Regions from separate parts of the Homo sapiens genome. Here regions 1 and 2 are each linked to region 3. Evidence: promoter capture Hi-C in human tissues and cell types (Jung and others, 2019). All regions are on one chromosome and are shown on one strand. Each heading gives the region's core, a stretch centred on a gene start or on the middle of the fragment in contact. The rest is flanking DNA. Distances are from core to core; before and after follow the strand shown.

Region 1 (4,373 bases), core at 1,177-3,676, 520 kb after region 3:
CTCACCGTTTGCAATCACAACTTAGCTAACTGTTTGACACAAGTGGCCTTGCTTGTGGCCTATCTCAGTTTTAGTCATGCCTTCCTTACTAAGCCTAATCATTTCTAGCTTTTGATTTAAAGTGAGAGACATGCAACTTTTCCCTTCACTTGAACACTTACAGGTCACTGTAGAGTTACTAATTGACCTAATTTCAATGGTGTTGTGTTTCAGAGAATAGGGGGGCCAGGAAAGAGTGAGAAATAGAGATATGAAGGAATGGCTGGTCATTAGAGCACTAACACACACGACATTTGTTAAGTTCACAGTCTTACATGTACATGTACATCTACATGTATACAGGTTACATTGTATACATAGGTATACAACTGCAATGGTAACATCAAAGATCACTGGTCATATATCACCATAACAGATGTAATAACAATGAAAAAGTTTTAAATATTGCAATAATTACCAAAATAGGCACAAAGACACAAAGTCAGCACAAGCTGTTGAAAAATTAGTGTTGATAGACTTGCTCAATGAGTTGCCACAATTCTTCAATTTGTAAAAAACACAGTACCTGATAAGTGCAATAAAGCAAATCACAATAAAATGAGTTATATTTGTACAATTCTCTTTCCATTCAAATTGAAAAGAGCTAGCAATGTCAGAGAACTGTGCACTATGGTTAGTAGTTCTGTATGATGCATATACATGGTGAAGTTTAATAATACTGAGTAGCAAAAGCCCAAGGAATTATAAAGTTAAGTCCAATTAAACCAAGTACACAATTAATAAAGATGACTGCTTATCCTGAAGGAATAAATAAATTACAAATGTGAATAAAGAATCTGAACCTTGACCCCCTCCCTCCCTTAGAAGGAAAGATGAAATGTGAAAAAAAAAAAAAGATTTGAGCTGATGGTTTAAAATGATTAGCTAGCCCTCAAAGTTTAATGCAGAAAAATATGAAGGATTACTTTTTTAGATATCAAGAATATATTAAGAGTATTTTAAACAACTTTCTGACAAAATTAAATTTGTACTTAAACAAATTTTAGTACAGAACCAGATACACTCACTGGTAAAATTCACCAAACATTTAAAGAAGAATTGATACCAACCCTTCTCAAACTTTTCCAAAATGTAGAAAAGGGAAAAATTTCTAACTAATTTTATGAGGTCAACATTAGCCTGATACTAAATACAAAACAAATCACAAGAAGCCACAAAACTACAGACTAATCTTCCTTATGAATCTTGACATAAAAATCCACAATAAATTATGAGACCGAATCTAACAATACATTAAACACTATGACCAAGTGAGGTTTACCTAGAAATGCAAGGTAAGAATATCAATTAATGTAATATATCACATTAATAGAATAAGGGGAAAAGCCACATGACTATCTTGATTGATACAGAAAAAGCATTTGAGAAAATCTAACATTCTTTCATGATAAAAAGACATTTATGAAAAACCCACAGCTAACATCAATTTCAATGGTAAAAAAAATTGAAAGCTTTCTCCTTAAAATCAGGAGCAAGACAAGGATGCCTAGTTTAAGTACCAATATTCAACATCTTACTGAAAGTTCTACCCAAAGCAACTAGACAAGAAAAATAAATAAAAGTCATTCAAATTGTAAAAGAAGAAATGAAACTATCTCTATTCACATGACATGACTCTCAATATAGAAAATCCCCAAAAATTCACCAAACAAAAGATTCAAATGAATAAACAAATTCAGTAAAATAGCAGAATATAAGCTCAACACACAAAGATCTGTTGTATTTTTAAACAACAGCAATAAACATGATAAAGGAGAAATTAAGAAAATAATTTTATTTACAACAGCATTCGAAGGAATAAAATACTTAGGTGTGTGTTTAACTAAAAAGATTAAAGATTTGTACATTGAAAATTATGAAACATTGCTAAAAGAAATTAAATAAAACCTAAATAAATGGAAAGACACATATATTTATGAACTAGAAAATTTAATATTGTTAAGATGGCAATAATATCCACAATTTTAAAACGATGTAATACATTTCATATTATATTTTAATGGTCTTTTTGCAGATATGAAAAAAGGTGATCCTCAAATTCATATGGAATGTAAGGGGCCCAGAATAATAAAAATGATATTGAAAAAGAACAGCCAATTTGGAAGTCTCACACTTCTCATTTTCAATACTTACTATAAAGTTACAGCAATCAAGAGAATGTGGTACCAACATGAGAATAGTCATACAAATGAATGAAATGGAATTGAGAAGCCATAAAGAGATTCATACATCTATGGTCAATTTAATTTTGACAAGGGTGAAAAGACTCTTCAATAGGGGAAAGAATAATATCTTCAACACATGACACTAAAACAAACGGTCATTCTCATGTGAAATAATGAAGTTGGACTCACATACATCATATAAAAAAATTGACCAGAAATGGATCAGTGACATAAATATGAGAGCTAAAACTATAAATCTTGTAGAAGAATACAGAGCACATCTCTATGATCTTATTTTGACCACAAATTCTTACAAATGGCATAAAAAGCACAAGCAAGAAAATAATAAGTAAATAAATTGGGCTTCATCAAAATTAATACTTTCTTGCATCAAAGGACATTATTAAGAAGGTAAAAAGATAACATACAGAATGGAAAAAAATGTAAATCATATCTAATAAGAGCCTAATATCCAGAAAGGAACTTTTCAATTCAATAACAAAGTCTATCAAGCTCAATTTAAAAATGAACAAAGACTCAAATAGACATTTCTTCAAAGAAGATATATAAAAGGCCAACAAGTACATGAAAAAATGCTTAGCATCATTAGACTTTAGGAAAATATAAATCAAAATGACAATGAAATATCACTTCACATCCACTAGAATGGCCTTATTTTTACCAAAAAAAGTGAAAAATAACAAATATTGAAAATGTAGAAAAACTGGAATACTTGTACATCACTGGTGGAAATGTAAAATGGTTCAATTGCCATGGAAAATATTTTGGCCATTCCTCAAAAGGTTACACATTAAATTACCATATGACCTAGGTTTCCACTGCTAGGTGTATACCTAAAAGAAATGAAAACAGGCACTCAAACAAATACATGTACATGCATGTTCATAGAAGCACCATTTATCATAGTCCTAAATTAGAAGCAATACAAATGTCCATTAACTGATGAATAGGTAAATAAATTCTAATATGTATGTGTGTGTATATATATATATATATATATATATATATATATACACACACACACACACACACACAATAGTTCAATGGTTTGAGTGTTTTTGTCCTTACAAAATTCAGGTTGAAACCTAATTGCCTCTAAAATGCAGGTGAGGCCAATGTAATGATGTTAAAGGTGGAGGAGCCTTTAAGAGGTGATTAGGCCATGAAGGCTTTTCTTTTGTTAATGGGATTAAGGTCCTTATAAAAGAGCCTTCACACAGCTTTAAGCTAGCTTACAAGCCTGACTTTTCACCTTATTCCATGTGACGACACAGTAAGAAGGTACTTACCAGACCAAATGATGGCCCCTTTATCTTGGACTTCCCAACCTCTAGAATCGTGAGAAACACATTTCTGTTCTTTATAAGTTACCCATTCGGTGGTATTCTGTTAAAGCAGTGCAAACAAACTAAGGCAGAAATTGGTACCAGAGAAAAGGGGTATTTCTATAACAGATACTTAAAGATGCGGAAGTGGTTCTGAAACTGGGTAATGGGTAGAAGCTCAAACAGTTTTGAAGTGAATGATGGAAATAGCTTGTAATGCCATGAACAGAACATTGTTACATGTGTAAACATTAAAGGCCATTCTGATGAGGCCTTGTTCCACATGGAAATGTGGAACAAGGTATGGGAAACTAGAGGAAAGGCCAACCTTTTTACAAAGTGGCAAAGAACTTGGCTAAATTATGTTGTGTCCTAGAAAATTTATGGAAGGAAAATCTTACGAGGATGAACTAGTTTTGGCAGAAGAAATGTCTAAGCAGCAAAGCATTCAGGCTGTGATGTGGCTTCTTTTGATGGTTTGTGGTAAAATGCAAGAAGAAAGAAATAATTTAGAGACAGAATTTATAACTAAAAGGGAAGAAAAATGTAAAGCTGTGAAAAATTATCAGCCTAGCTGTGTAAACAATAAATATGTATAGGAGAGAAAGCCAAGAATGTGGCCATAAGGAGATTATTACAGATAGAAACAAGCCATGTGGCTATTCATTAAGAAAATGAGGCAATGACACTGAAGATGTTTCAAAGACCTTTGAGGCTGGCCCTTTGATCACAGGTCCAGACTGTCAGATCCTTGAGGACAGAAAATCTTAAAGAGGTGGGTGCAAGGTACGTATGAGAACAC
Region 2 (4,278 bases), core at 1,541-4,040, 550 kb before region 3:
ATTGGATGATAGAGGGTGCTAGAAGGAATGTCTCAGAGAAAAGTTGTGTGTTTGGACATAGTGAGGGATTCCTGCTTCTGGAGAAAATGGGGAAGGGAGGAAAGAGGTAAATTGACCAAAATGTAATCACATTACTCTACGTGACTCATGTTTGAATAATATTTATGAAAACATGGTAAGATCAACATATTATTAGTGTAGGCCCAAACCATGATCATAGGTTAACTATGGATGCTAATTTAGTTATTTTCCAGAACATGTTGCTTTCTTTAGGACTTTCAGTAGTCTGATGCAAAAATAAATCCACAAATATAAATACACTGTTACCAAAGATATTATTACATAAAAAATCTCTTTAATATTCCGTGCTATGCCTAAAGTACAGCATTCTTTATTCAAAATGATACTTCTTAGGTCTCTTCCTGTTTTATAATGTTGCTTATGCGTAGGAGTAAAGATAAGAATAATTGCCATACATTTTTATTAGATTTTCAGAACTGATAATTTAATTTTTTTGAAATATCAACATAATACTATGATCATAATTAGCACTATTGCTCTTTCTGAAGATTTTATTTCACAGTAAATGATTTTTTAAAAGTTGATCATTTGCAGGTCACTTGCTCTGTTGAATTATGGAACTTCCTCTTCCTTTTAAAAATCTCAGCCACATGACAAATAAATCAGCCTGCCCTAAACTCCTTATAATATCAGCCTTTGTTCCAGAACACATTTCCCCTCTCAGGGTTTTATGTTCCATCGGCAAGATTATGAACAATGTTTTGTTGACCAGTGAAACCACCACTTAAAACACTCTTCAGCTGACTTTCCTGGAACAAATTTATTTATGTACAATTAGAGGATCTCACTCGAAAGAAAATATATTCCTAAGAATAAATATGTAAATCATATTTTGTCAATGTAGTCACCTTCTAAATGTGCTTCCAAGGGTGCTGTCTATTTGAAAAGAACATTGAAACAAATCATTTTGTAAAGCCTAGACACTTTTGAAAGGTGAATAATTATTCCTTATTTAACATGATTTTTAAGTTTAGATTTAGTATAGCTGGGCATTTTAAAATAGAATATTTTTAAATTTTTGCATAAATTATAATAGTCTCTATTGCTAATTTTTTTTTTTTTTTTTTTTTTTTTTGAGACGGAGTCTCACTCTGTCGCCCAGGCTGGAATGCAGTGACACAGTATCGGCTCACTGCAACCTCCGCCTCCCGGGTCCACGCCATTCTCCTGCCTCAGCCTCCCGAGTAGCTGGGACTACAGGCACCCGCCACCACACCCGGCTAATTTTTTGTATTTTTAGTAGAGACGGGGTTTCACCGTGTTGGGCAGGATAGTCTCGATCTCCTGACCTCGTGATCCGCCCGCCTCAGCCTCCCAAAGTGCTGGGATTACAGGCGTGAGCCACCGTGCCCGGCCTCTATTGCTAAATTGAACATTTCTCCAGGTAGTTATAATTCTACAAAGCTTTTTTTTTTCTTTCTTTTTGAGACTGAGTCTTGCTCTGTTGCCCAGGCTAGAATGCAGTGGTGCTATCGCGGCTCACTGCAACCTCCGCCTCCTGGGTTCAAGCAATTCTCCTGCCTCAGCCTCCTGAGTAGCTGAGATTACAGGTGCACACCACCATGCCCAGCTAATTTTTGTATTTTTAGTAGAGACAGGGTTTCACCATGTTGGTCAGGCTGGTCTCGAACTCTTGACCTCGTGATCCGCCCACCTCGGCCTCTCAAAATGTTGGGAATACAGACGTGAGCCCCTGCACCTGGCCTGTAAAGCTTTTCTTAAAGTTCTTCCATCATCGAATATTTTGCCATAGTGAAGAAATTATTTGTAGTAAAGATTCTATCACATTCATGGCCCATACCTTTTACAGGTGGTAAAAATATTGTTGGTTGACATACCAATAAGTTAAACCTAACTTGTAAATATAAGTTAAATTAACTTATAATACAGCATTTGGATTTTCTTTCAAAGATGTGTTGAATTCTGCTTTCCTAAAGAATTAAAACAAATTTTACATATTTAGAAATGTCTCCCCTTCACAAAATAAGACCATTTTATGGGGCTACCAAAAACCATTAAAGCAAAGGTAAATTGACTTGTGACTTTTTTTTTTAAAGGAGATTTAGTTGTTGACTGGGTCATTTGTTTTATTTCAAGGTCCCATTTTCTACTTTCTTGGACAGGACATTATGAATATTTATGTGGAGAGAAATTAACAAATATATTAGCATACTTTATAGGATGTTTATAACAGAAAATATAAAGAGGTGATCAATAATATACAAGAATATACTATCACAAGTTTGAAATAGCCATGTTGGGAAAAAGGATACAGCTCTTTCTACATCAGTGTTCAAAACAATTTTTATAGAAACCCTAACTACAATATTTTCTGGCTACTTATATTGTTTAATTTATAATAATATCTGTAATATTTAAGAGCATCTGGATTCTGTTGAGAGAGTAAAATCATTTAAGTCTCTGAATGCCTCCACATTCCATAGGAAACGTGCCACACTGGCATTTGAGCTGCCCGGGGATCCATCATTTATTGGCTGATCTCTCTCAACCAGACAGGAGTGTACTCTTTCAGTGTGTTAAAACTTGTTTTTGCTTTTAACTATGGAATTCAATTTGGGATTCTTCCCTAAGTTGTGAATACACACACCCTTAAAAAGAATGCCATATCCTCGGTTCCAAGTTACACATCCAGAAGTGTTCCAGATGTTCAGAGTCAACTATAGCAGTTGTATTTGTGCGGCCAGGGTAATGCATAATTTCTCAACTATATTTATATGGAAAATTACTATTGCTTCTTTCATTCATTTAGTTTCTTGTATGTGGATAATTAGGAATTAAATTTATTTGACTTTTGGATATCAGCCTTATCCTTCAGCTATTAATATAGTTCGTAACTGTATAATTTTACATGGAATCAGAAGTGATCTTTTTTTCACTTTTCTTCCCTGTGGTTTCTTTGGTATCAATCATTCTTTCCTCTGACCAGAACTTCTTGAGGGCTGGGGCTATACTTTAAATGGTCTTTGATGCCTGGCACAGTGCCTGAGGAACTGAAAAGGGTTGCTTCTAGAATTACCGTATTTTCTTGTTTCTAAGAGCAACATTTTTAAAAACCATTTTAACAATTCAGAACTTAAGATGTCTGAAATTATCAATGTCAAAAGAATATTCCCACTGTCGGGCCGAAAAGCAAGTTGAGACTGTTTCCTTCACCCACCCACATGCGACCTTCAGCCAGACTCCAAAGGTATCCCTTCAGCAGATTGTCACCTCAGTTCCATTGTTTGCATTTATAGTGCTCAACAGTGAAATTTCTAACATAAACGAGGGATTCCTAATTTTTGCTGAAATTCATGCCTTCAAAAAGATTACACAATGAAGTAACTCAAAACCATGAGGTAAGAGGCAGCTTTCAATTAAAGGCAATAAAACGAGGCCAGAAACGGATGGGATTTCCCTATCTCATCCTGCACATATTTTAGTTCTAGTTTCCTCTCTGAGGATTAACCCCATCAATGATTGCCCCTATGAAGTCCCAACCTTGACAAGAGAAGCCTGCTCACCAATAAACCTAACATCTGCATACAAGGTGTATCAAATGAGCAGGAGAATTTTTCAGGATCAAGATCTAAGTTGGGCATAAGGAATTAGGAGAAATAAGTGTTTTGTCATTGTGTAAAACCAAAGGTTTGCATAGAGGACACACAACTTGAGAAGAGCCACATGCACAATCAAAATCATAGCGCTCTTACTGTGTTTTGCACCTGTGAGGGAGGTGCAGCAATAAGGCTTCCTGACCATGCTTTGGGGAGATAGAACAACCCCCTGGAGTGAGGCCACTGGCACAAAAGCAGGATGGTGTTCCATGTGTTTACTGCAAGTAAATCTATTAAAACTACCGGGTTTTTACTGGGACTTTTGTTATTATTATTATTACTATTTTGAGACTGAGTCTTGCTCCATCCCCCAGGCTGGAGTGCAGTGATGCAATCTTGGCTCACTGCAACCTCCACCTCCCAGGTTCAAGCAATTCTCGTACCTCAGCCTCCTGAGTAGATGGAATTACAGGTGCCGAATACCACGCCCAGCTAATTTTTGTATTTTTAGTAGATACGGGGTTTCACCACGTTGGCTAGGCTGATCTTGAATTCCCAAACTCAGGTGATCCACCCGCCTCGGCCGCCCAAAGTGTTGGGATTACCGGCGTGAGCCACCGTGCCTGGCCAGGACTTTTGA
Region 3 (4,897 bases), core at 1,192-3,691:
CAATCTTTGGTTACTAACACATGGCAAATAAGTAGTTTTAAATAAGTGAGTTTTCTTATCTTAGCTAGTTAGGCTATAAATCCTGCTCTAAAATATTTTAAAGCATGAAAAAGAATTAAATGCTCTGGTTGTTGTATATACAGTAGACATATTTATCTTTTATCATCTTTTAACACTGTGAGAGTTACTTAACTCTGCTGTACCAACGGTTCTTTCCATTGGGAATTGGAAGTGGGATTCTAAACCTAGAGAACAAGGGAGTGCAGGGGAGGTAAGGAATGGGGTTCAGAGCCCAGGTCTTCCCTAATGTGGAGGCCTCTCTTTAAACAATTAGGCTCTTAAAGACAACCAGGTCTCCTTATGAAAGGCACCAGGGCATGACTGGGTTCAAGACTGATGTCTTGCCCTTAGAGATCCAATATATAAGATGAATTAAATCAACCCTCACCATGCATAAGGATACGCAGAGAAGCCTGTCAGTCATAGGCATAATAACAACCCAACCTCAGCCCTGATCTAAAATTAAAACCACAGACTTAAAATAGATCATGACCTAACAGATCAGAATTTTAAAAATCAAAACGACCATTTTCCAAACAGAAAATAACACATAGCTTGATAAGAAAAATTAAAAGTAATATTAGCTGACACCTAGAACTATATGCAAGGCACTGTTCTAAGCACTTTATGTCAGGCTAACAAGGCACCAACCACCTCTCTGTTCAATTAGTGACTTTACATGTACAATCTATAGTAATACTACAGATTAAATACCGTAGGGTAAACCAATGGGATGTTATCAGTGAAGGATTCTAGTTTACCATTAACTCACCTTTATTCTAGAATAACTATGCTTAATAAATAGCTTACCTGAATGACCAGGGGTTGTGATGTCACAAAAATGAGTACAAGAAATTAATACAAGTATCTTCCCAGAAATCACTACGTGTAAACTGGGGGGAAAATAATAAATACCTTCTTCACCAACAAAGGAAACGAAGAAAATGGAAGTCCTACTATCCATACTGCAAAAATGCTTATTCTACTATCATATTCCCTTTTGAGAAATAGACCAGTTACGCCAGAAGTGCAATGTTGTCACAGATGTGTGCCAGATTTTGCAGAGGACATAAGTTGGCTGTGAGGAAGAACACAGAGGTTGCCTATTTTTTAGGCAGGAAAGAAAGCCTGCACTTTTCTGTGTGTGTGTGTCAATAAATCTGAATAACAACTTGAAAGGGTTAAAAAGCTGAGCACCAGGTGTTTTCTTTCCACTTTCCAGAGTAATTTAAGCACACTGCAAAGTTATCTCCCTTCCTTCCCCACGAGCCAGCTTAAGGGAGACCTGTCACTGCCATTTACACTGTACAGCTCCAGCTCTAAACAATAGGAGGGCACCAGGCTGGGCAGCAGGCATCGCGGCTTCCCACAGCCTGTATGGGCTTTGTTGCCAAGTTATGAGCTCCGCTGGGTGATGGAGACACGAGTGAGCCAAGGAGAATTTAATTCTATTTCAAATCTGTATGCTTTCAAAGAAAATAGAGACAATTGAGGCCACGGGAGGAGCTGGAGGGGGTAACCAAAAACAAACTTTCGGAACCTCAGAATCTACATTTCTAGCAGTAATTCTCAGCAAAGGATTAGGTGGTATTGATACTCTCATAAAGTATTTAACACCGAGATTAGAGACCATTCAGGAGCGGTGGCCGAGCGGAGTCCCCATCCTTCGTAGTCCCACTCCTCCAGCAGCAACCGGCGGCGCGCTTTCGGAGCCCACCTCCGCTCCGCAGCGCGGCCAGCTTCCCCCCGCCCTGGCTCCAACCCCGGCTCCAGCCCCGGCCCCGTGCCCAGCCTCCTAGCCGAGCCCGGGACGTGCAGCCAAGCCGAGCGCAGAGGGGGCGCGGGGCAGGCAGCGGCGCTGCGCCTCCCCCGGCAGCCCAGAAAGCCGGACGGGGTCCGCCTGGGCCAGTGAGGCCGGGCTCAACGGAGACCCGGGCCGGGCGGGGAAGCTGCAGGCGCAGAGCCGGCTTAGCTCCGCGCCGCCTGGCCGCGCGCAGCTCCCGCATTGTCCGCAGTCGGGGCGCGGCGCGACCACTGAACCCGAATCCCAACCCCCGCCCAGCAGTCTCTCTCCCGGCCCCCACGGCCCAGTCTTACCTGGGCCGCTCACCCCAGTCCCTGGCGGTGCGGCCCGAGCCGGGAGCCAGGCTCCGGGGGACTGCAAGGAGGGAGAGTCGGGGCCCGCGAGGGACGAAGGGCCGAGAGCGGGCTGTAGGGGCCGCCGAGTGTTCACGGTCGCCGCCGCGGGGCCGCGGGTAGAGAGCAGACGGGGCTGGCGGAACGGGCCCAGGACGCGCGGCCGCGAAGGGCCCGGCTGGCGGCGGCCGCGATGGTTCGGTCTGCACCGAGTGGGAGGGCTCAGGCAGGCTTCGCCGGAGAGTGAGGGAGGGAACTTGGAGCCAGTTGCTGTGGCCGAGAGCGCGTGTCCCTGAGCCAGTGTACACGCCCCTCGTACACCCCGCCCCGCCTCCATCCCGCCCCCACCCCACCTTCCGGGTCCCCACCCTTCTCGCACCTCCACTCCAAGCCCTGCCTCTCTCTCAACATCTCCACCCCGCTACTGATGCCCATCCCACCCCATCCCTGACCCACCCCCCATTCCACTCGGTCGGCGCCTCCATTTCCTCCCTATCCCCCACTCCCACCTATGTCCGCACGCAAGCACCCCCACCCTGCTCCCACCCGGTGATACCGCTGGATCTCGGACTGCCACCCCAGTGCAGATCGCTCAGCACTGGAGACGTAGAGCCTGTGCCCTGAATGAGATAACCCCACCTGGTAGTCCAGCCATCCAAACGTCTTGGTGCTTGACATTTTCTGTTTACTAACTTTCATATACTCAGATGGAGCGTCCTAGCTTAATTTCTGAAGGCATTTTTAAGACTTCAAAAAAATGTTTGGAGAAAATAGTAAATAACGAAAAATATCAAGCATGATGTACTACCTCTGAAATGTGGGCCAGCTGATGTTTTAAAATGAAATGCTTTGGGGTGCGTCATTATTAATCGCCTAATATAGTATTTGAGAATACTTTCTGCTTAGATTTGCTTAATAACTTGGTTGTTTCAGGAGAGGATTTGTTTTAGGAAGACTAAACACATTGTAATTTAATTTTGCTATTGGGAAGTCTAAAAGATAAAATCCATCTTTATCAAAATGAATTTGAATGGGATATGGACTCACAAAATAATTGTTTCTTCTAGAAAATATTGAGCAAGGATTTCTTTTTAATCTCTGGTACATTAACAATACGATTTCACTCATCTCATTTTCTCAGAAAGATCGTTTATATTTGAATTGTGCTTCAATTCAATGAATCTATTGTTTCATAATAGTTAAGAAGTTGCCAACTAAATAAAACTCAGACTTTATAATAATATATTTTTTTTCTATTTAAAGATTACCATTTTAAGAAAGTGACATGATACTGGGATTTAAATGGAACTTTCCTTTGGCATACTAATACATTCCTTGTTATCACAGATTACGTTGTGGTCTCCATTAACTCCAAAAGTCATATAACAATAGAAATAAACTATTTTTCATCATTCCCATAGCAAATGGAACCAACTTCTCTCCCTCTCAAGTATACTTTTTTTCCCCACTTCTTTGCCCCAATCCCTTCCTTTTAGGAATTTCCCCCTCCCATTGGGTGTGACTAGCCCACAGAGCTTCCTGACATTGTGAGGGATATGACCCAGGCCAGCCAATTAGAATATCGTCTGAGAACAAAGGAGGAGGGTCCTTTCCCTGACTGACAGGGCAGCTCCTGGGACCATATCATATATGCGTGCAGCAGCTGGAGTCAACTTACTGGAGAATAAAACAAAACCAGAAAAAAAGCCAAACTGAGCAATGGAGACAGAAAAGTGCCCTGATGACATCAATGGCCATCCGAAGACAGTCACCTCTAAAACCAGTCAAATCCTGAACTTCTGAAGTAATGCACCAATAAATTGTCTTTCTTGCTTATGCCATTTTGAGTTAAGTTTCTTTCCAGAAGACTCACTTATAAAATCATAAAAGATTCCCCTATGATCGATGCTTTGAAAATCAGGAATGTAACCAATGAGTTTTAGCTTTCTTTCTTTTTTTTTTTTTTTTTTTTTTTGATGACAGAGTCTCACTCTGTCACCCAGGCTGGAGTGCAGTGGCATGATCTCCACTCACTGCAACCTCCACCTCCTGGGTTCAGCAATTCTCCTGCCTCAGCCTCCCGAGTAGCTAAGATTATAGGCACGGGCCACCACGCCCAGCTAATTTTTGTATTTTTAGTAGAGACGGGATTTTGCCATGTTGGCCAGGCTAGCCTGGAACTCGTGACCTCAGGTGATCCACCTGCCTCAGGCGCCCAAAGTTCTGGGATTACAGACGTGAGCCACTGCGCCGACCAAGTTTTAGCTTTTCTATTGCCTAAACTACTTCTTGATAATAAAGTATATGCCAAGGAGTTCACTTAGTAGGACCCCTAACTCTTATTATTAAGGTTCTCATTTAGGGTTTTACTATTGCCCAGTGTAGATTTAATAGCCCCAAATTGTCATCACCAAAACCAAAAACCAATAAAAGATGTGGTTAAAGAGACAGAGAGAACACAGTAAAACATCTATGCTGGAATATTTCAGTAAATATTGTCTTATCAATTATGCCAATAAAACTGCTCTCATAATCCCTAATGTTTGCTGATTTAGGACATAGTTTTCTTGTTTTGGGGACTGAAAATGTTAAGGACTGCTACAGATTTTCAGAGAATGTTGAAATTAGTTGTTTGTACTAGAATTTTATTGTGTTGTTTATTCTTCAGAAGTGGGCCATTATCCTAGGCTTGGAATTCTTT

What was found. Contacts are between HindIII fragments. The study calls those that stand out against the background at their distance.
Region 1: a contact is called between a fragment that was not itself captured here and the fragment with the promoter of FAM110B in region 3, in 1 of the 25 tissues and cell types used here (mesenchymal stem cells).
Region 2: a contact is called between a fragment that was not itself captured here and the fragment with the promoter of FAM110B in region 3, in 1 of the 25 tissues and cell types used here (lymphoblastoid cells).

The regions. Positions count from the first base shown.
Region 1 is chr8:57,473,997-57,478,369 of GRCh38, reverse strand. All of the region lies in intron 1 of LOC105375855 (a long non-coding RNA gene), which reads right to left. Among named protein-coding and RNA genes, the nearest start is that of LINC00588, 200 kb to the right of the region's middle. The HindIII fragment of the contact is 6,465 bases long and covers 1-4,373 here.
Region 2 is chr8:58,542,327-58,546,604 of GRCh38, reverse strand. No RefSeq gene overlaps it. Among named protein-coding and RNA genes, the nearest start is that of SDCBP, 8.8 kb to the left of the region's middle. The HindIII fragment of the contact is 6,579 bases long and covers 1-4,278 here.
Region 3 is chr8:57,992,067-57,996,963 of GRCh38, reverse strand. FAM110B (family with sequence similarity 110 member B) reads right to left here and starts at 2,441. Exons shown (of 4, transcript NM_001377989.1): 1 at 2,158-2,441. RefSeq lists an enhancer at 1,490-1,990 and silencers at 1,995-2,044, 2,065-2,114. The HindIII fragment of the contact is 16,250 bases long and covers 1-4,897 here.